Linked DNA regions of Homo sapiens: region 1 is linked to region 2. The links are contacts of gene promoters, found by promoter capture Hi-C in blood cells and fetal thymus (Javierre and others, 2016). All regions are on one chromosome and are shown on one strand. The core of a region is centred on a gene start or on the middle of the fragment in contact, and the rest is flanking DNA. Distances in the headings are between cores, read along the strand shown. Region 1 overlaps KLHDC4 (kelch domain containing 4). Region 2 holds the start of FBXO31 (F-box protein 31).

Region 1 (2,841 bases), core at 33-2,532, 340 kb after region 2:
GCAACATTGTCTTCTTAGAATTAACAGCCTATGGGGGAATGTTTTATGCTACAATATTTAAGTACTTCCCCTCCAGACCATGCAAGCCAGAGAGGTGGAGCACTTCACAAGGCCTGATCTGCTCACACGGGTCCACAGGTTCCTTCCGGCACACAGCTGGCTGGCCACACCCTCTAACAGGGCCCATGGTTCGACCTCCCCAACAGCTTCTAACTCCTCCTTCTACAGCAGTTTCTTTTCTTGAAGTGTTGTGACTTTTCCCAAAATCCAACCTGTCTGTCTTCAAAGAAAGTAACAGACAACGGCCTTGTTGCCCTCTGTTTTTCTGGATCACCTGTGCTCAAGCTCTATTAGCATACACCAAACCAGCTTTACATTCACGCAGTCTTTCCACAAAAACCGATTCGCTCTCGCTCTCCCTCTCCCTCTCCCTCCCCCTCTCCCTCCCCCTCCCTCTCCCTCCCCCTCTCCTCCCCCTCCCCCTCCCTCTCCCTCCACAGTCTCCCTCTCCCTCTCCCTCTCTCTCCACGGTCTCCCTCTGATGCCGAGCGGAGGCTGGACTGTACTGCCGCCATCTCGGCTCACTGCAACCTCCCTGCCTGATTCTCCTGCCTCAGCCTGCTGAGTGCCTGGGATTGCAGGCACGCGCCGCCACGCCTGACTGGTTTTTGCTGGAGTGCAGTGGCGTGATCTCGGCTCGCTACAACCCCCACCTCCCAGCCACCTGCCTTGGCCTCCCAAAGTGCTGAGATTGCAGCCTCTGCCCGGCCGCCACCTCGTCTGGGAAGTGAGGAGCGTCTCTGCCTGGCCGCCCATCGTCTGGGATGTGAGGAGCCCCTCTGCCCGGCTGCCCAGCCTGGGAAGTGAGGAGCGCCTCTTCCCGGCCGCCATCCTGTCTGGGAAGTGACGAGCGTCTCTGACCGGCCGCCCATCGTCTGAGATGTGGGGAGTGCCTCTGCCCCGCCGCCCCGTCTGGGATGTGAGGAGTGCCTCTGTCCGGCCGCGACCCCGTCTGGGAACTGAGGAGTGTCTCTGCCCAGCCGCCACCCTGTCTGGGAGGTGAGGAGCGTCTCTGCCCGGCCGCCCGGTCTGAGAAGTGAGGAGCCCCTCCGCCCGGCAGCCGCCCCCTCCGGGAAGTGAGGAGCGTCTCCGCCCAGCAGCCACCCCATCCGGGAGGTGGGGGGCAGCCCCCGCCCGGCCAGCCGCCCCGTCTGGGAGGGAGGTGGTGGATGCCTCTGCCCGGCTGCCCCGTCTGGGAAGTGAGGATCTTCCCGGCCGCCACCCCGTCTGGGAGGAGTACCCAACAGCTCATTGAGAATGGGCCATGATGATGATGGTGGTTTTGTCAAATAGAAAAGGGGGAAATGTGGGGAAAAGAAAGAGAGATCAGATTGTTACTGTGTCTGTGTGCAAAGAGGTAGACATGGGAGACTCCATTTTGTTCTGTACTAAGAAAAATTCTTCTGCCTTGGGATGCTGTTAATCTATAACCTTACCCCCAACCCTGTGCTCTCTGAAACATGTGCTGTGTCCACTCAGGGTTAAATGGATTAAGGGCGGTGCAAGATGTACTTTGTTAAACAGATGCTTGAAGGCAGCATACTCGTTAAGAGTCATCACCACTCCCTAATCTCAACTACCCAGGGACACAAACACACGGAAGGCCGCAGGGTCCTCTGCCTAGGAAAACCAGAGACCTTTGTTCACATGTTTATCTGCTGACCTTCCCTCCACTGTTGTCCTATGACCCAGCCAAATCCCCCTCTCCGAGAAACACCCAAGAATGATCAATAAATACTAAAAAAAAAAAACAAAAAACTGATTCGGCTACGGTAAAGTAGTAAACAGAATCTGCATGAATTTTTGGAGAAGTTAGACTTCATTCTAATACATTATTGCTGGAATGCAAAGACATCTGAGAGAGAGATCAAGTGTCAACATGGAGGGTGAGCGCAACAGGGCTGGCTCTGGAATTACTTAGCATCCGGCTGAGACCCCAGAGCCCAGCAGAGCTGTGCCTGAACGTTTGGAGGCGCATCGGCCGCACACGCCAAGTCCCAACGGGCCCCCACCTCCCGCACAATGTAGTACAGGCCACCTAGCTTAGCCTGCAGCCACATCCCCTGATGAGACCCCACCTCCCGCAGAAGTACAGGCCACTTAGCTTAGCCTGCAGTGAGTCCTCAATGCAGCTGCTTTGGCTCACCCGGCTGTCGGCTCAGACGCCGACCCATTTCAATCATCAGGAGAGGAGAAGACACACAGGGCCGCCCCAAGGACCCCGTCACCAGCTCAGGCCAGGTCACAGAATGGGCCGGCGGTGCAGTGGTAGGTAGATAAAGGCCGGGGAGCGTTTGTGGGAGAAGACGGCCAGACGACTGGTCCTGGGAGAAGACAGTGCTAACGGCAGCACTGATGTTCACCGAAATCACAATCAGGCAGGGATAGGGTGTCGGTTCCAAGCGGACGTGTGTGAACACAGAAACCATGGGGGCCGCTCCTTCCCACACCACTGAGACTGTCCATCCAGGCGCCCGAAGACGACTCCTAAACCACCTTTGCCAGACGCAGGTCCAGCAACCCATCAAGAGCACAGCTCGGGCAAGCAGCGACCGCACGCACCGTGCCCTCCTCACCACACAACCACAGGTGATGAGCCCCTGCGGAGACGCCGCGCCCCTGGGGAGACGCCGCACCACATCAGTGCACAGGAGGCATCTCACGTTTTGCGGGGCTTGGGAGAGAGGGACCCATGACGAGAGGACCCCCGCCCAACCACGTGTCGCGAGAGCAGCATGAAGCCGCGCGCCCCCTCCAGGCAGAGCTGCTGCTAAAATGACA
Region 2 (2,700 bases), core at 36-2,535:
ATAAACATCTCCTCCTGTGATCTGTTACATCCAATATTGCTGAAGGCAAAAGTCCAGCCCGCACCGCTGTGATCCATCCGTCTCTCTACGCCCCCACCATCAGGAGCCCCCGACACTGGGCTTCCCCTACTCCCGTAATTTTTTTTGTTGCTGTTGTTTGAGACCAAGTCGCACTCTGTCGCCTAGGGTGGAGTGCAATGGCCCAGATGTTGGCTCAGTGCAACCTCCGCCTCCCGGGTTCAAGCCATTCTTCTGCCTCACCCTCCCGAGTAGCTGGGATTACAGGCGCCCGCTACCACGCCCGGCTAATTTTTGTATTTTTGTAAGTAGAGACGGGGTTTTACCATCTTCACCAGGCTGGTCTCGAACTCCTGACCTCAGGTGACCCGCCCGCCTCGGCCTCCCTAAGTGCTGAGATTACAGGCGTGAAACCGCGCCCGGCCTGCTCCCATTTCTTCAAGTTCACCTCGTCTCTGGTCAGGGCCAGCGGGGCACCCTCGGCTCGCCTTCAAGACAGGGGCAGAGGAGGCGGCCCCCAGGCGTCAGCTTAGGCCCCGCGCAGACCTCGAGGGATCCCAGCCCCAGCTCCCGGCACGGCCTCGGCCCCGTGGTGTCCCGTGCCCCGCGTCAGGGCCTCTTCGATGCCTCCCTGACGCCCTCAACCCCTCCCTACCCCGTCTGCCTCTCTTGGACCCCTCGGACCCTCCCTAACCGCCTCAAATACCTCCCTGGCCCCCTCAACGTGGTGTCACCGCGGCCGCTCCCCACCCACACCCAAAACACCACATCGCCGGGCCCCGCGCCCAACTGGTGGCCCCCGGCCGGGGCCACCGCCCCCGCCACTCCCAGCTCCGAGGCCTCCACCTGGCAGGGACCCCCCGCCCCTCCCGGCCCCGCCACCCCCGCGCGCTCACCCTCACGGCAACGCCTCCTCCAGATGGTGTCGGTGTGGAGGATGCGCCGGAACTTCGTGCAGACCTGGGCCAAGCTGGGTAGGTCCGTGCCCGGCAGCGACGCGAAGATCTCCACCAGCAGCTCGGGCGGCAGCTCCAGCAGCGAGCAGCGCGGGGGCGGCGGCGAGGGGCCCGCGCACAAGCCGCCCCCGACCCCGGCGCTAGCCTCGATGCGCTCCTCCTCGGGGTCTGTGTCCGGCTCGCTGTCGGCCGCCGCCGTCTCGGCCGGGCCCCGGCGCTGCTGGCGGCGCCGACATCCGCGCGACGGGCCCACGCCGCAAAGGCGAGCACACACCGCCATGCCGCCCAGTGACGGCCACTGCTGCCGCCTGTGCGCACGCTCCAGCGCGGCCCCGCCCCGCCAGCGCCGAGCCACGCCCCCGCCGCAGAGCTCGCCACGCCCCCTGGAGAGCCTAGCCCCGCCCCTACGTAGAGCTCCGCCCCGGCCGCGCCACCCCCTCCCCGCGGGGCGGCGACCTCAGAGACCCCGCACTGCTGCCCTCCCCTCCAGCGTGAGGGCGCCGCCCGTGACGGGCATGAGAAAAGAAAGTGGTGATGCCGAGTGCAAAACGTTAGACTGCCCCGTGTGAGGCTCGAACTCACGACCTTCAGATTATGAGACTGACGCGCTGCCTACTGCGCTAACGAGGCTGCTCGGCGACCACTTCGCGCCGCGGCTTTTGTGGAGATAGGGGTCGCCCCTCGCGCCCGTGCGTCCCGCTTCCGGCGCCCGAAACTGTGCCGCGCCGGCCGGTGAGTAGAAAGATGCGCCTTACAGCCTCCAAATACAGAGGCAGCAGCCAGAACCCCAAAGGGCGCCTAGAAGCCCTTTTGTCCATTGAAACAACGCGCGTTCCATCGTCTCCGCCTTATGGTAACCAAAAGGCCCGAGCTGCGGAGCTCTGCAGGGACCTTCGGGGATCCCGAGCTCCCTGCGGAAGCCCCGGGGAGGGCTTGGAGGGGCGGCGGCCGGCGCGGCCCAAGAGATCCGGGGATGCGCGCCCGGTCTGGAAAGGGAGGCCCTGCCATGCGGCGCCGCCCAAAGGGCGCCTGTTCCTGCAGCTGCTGGGAGCCGCGCACGCCTGCTCCAGCTGGGCTCCGCCGAGGCCGCTGAGCGGGGTCGTCTCCCAGGTCCGCGGGTGGTGACCGCGAAGGCGTCCTCTCACCTGAGCAGCCGCGCACGTCGCCGTGGGCTCGCCTCGGACCCCATCTCTTGGAGGCCCAGGCGGGAGTATCAATCGAGGCCAGGAGCTCGAGACCGGCCTGGGCAATACAGCGAGACCCTGTCTACAAAACAAAATTTTAGAAAGAGAAGCTGAGACGGGAGGATCGCTTGATCCCAGGAGGCCGAGGCTGTAGTGACCCGTGATGGTGCCACTGCACTTCAGCCTGGGCAACACAGCGTGACCCTGTCTCCAAAACAAACAAAAAACAAAAATAGCCACAAATGGCTGGGCGCGGTGGCTCACGTCTGTAATCCCAGCACTTTGGGAGGCGGAGAAGGGTGCATCACCTGAGGTCAGGAGTTTGAGACCCGCCTGACCAACATGGTGAAACCCTGTCTCTTCAAACAAACAAACAAACAAACCACACAGGCCAGGCGCAGTGGCTCACGCCTGTAATTCTAGCACTTTGGGAGGCCGAGGCGGGTAGATCGGTTAAGCCCAGGAGTCGGAGACCAGCCTACCCACATAGTGAGACGCCCCCATCTCTACAAATAATTTAAAAAATTAGGCCGGGCGCGGTG

What was found. Contacts are between HindIII fragments. The CHiCAGO score rates a contact against its expected background, and 5 or more counts as called.
Region 1: a contact is called between a fragment that was not itself captured here and the fragment with the promoter of FBXO31 in region 2, in 1 of 17 cell types (naive CD8 T cells). The highest score is 5.8, in naive CD8 T cells.

The regions. Positions count from the first base shown.
Region 1 is chr16:87,717,872-87,720,712 of GRCh38, forward strand. The region is part of intron 7 of KLHDC4 (kelch domain containing 4); the gene reads right to left. Among named protein-coding and RNA genes, the nearest start is that of KLHDC4, 47 kb to the right of the region's middle. The HindIII fragment of the contact is 8,250 bases long and covers 1-2,841 here.
Region 2 is chr16:87,382,491-87,385,190 of GRCh38, forward strand. FBXO31 (F-box protein 31) reads right to left here and starts at 1,286. Exons shown (of 9, transcript NM_024735.5): 1 at 915-1,286. The coding sequence starts at 1,254. It overlaps TRM-CAT6-1 (tRNA-Met (anticodon CAT) 6-1), which reads right to left and starts at 1,604; the gene lies at 1,532-1,604. LOC124903747 (a long non-coding RNA gene) reads left to right here and starts at 1,443. Exons shown (of 2, transcript XR_007065168.1): 1 at 1,443-1,706. RefSeq lists silencers at 642-881, 1,022-1,681 and enhancers at 1,089-1,742, 1,743-2,394. The HindIII fragment of the contact is 7,278 bases long and covers 1-2,700 here.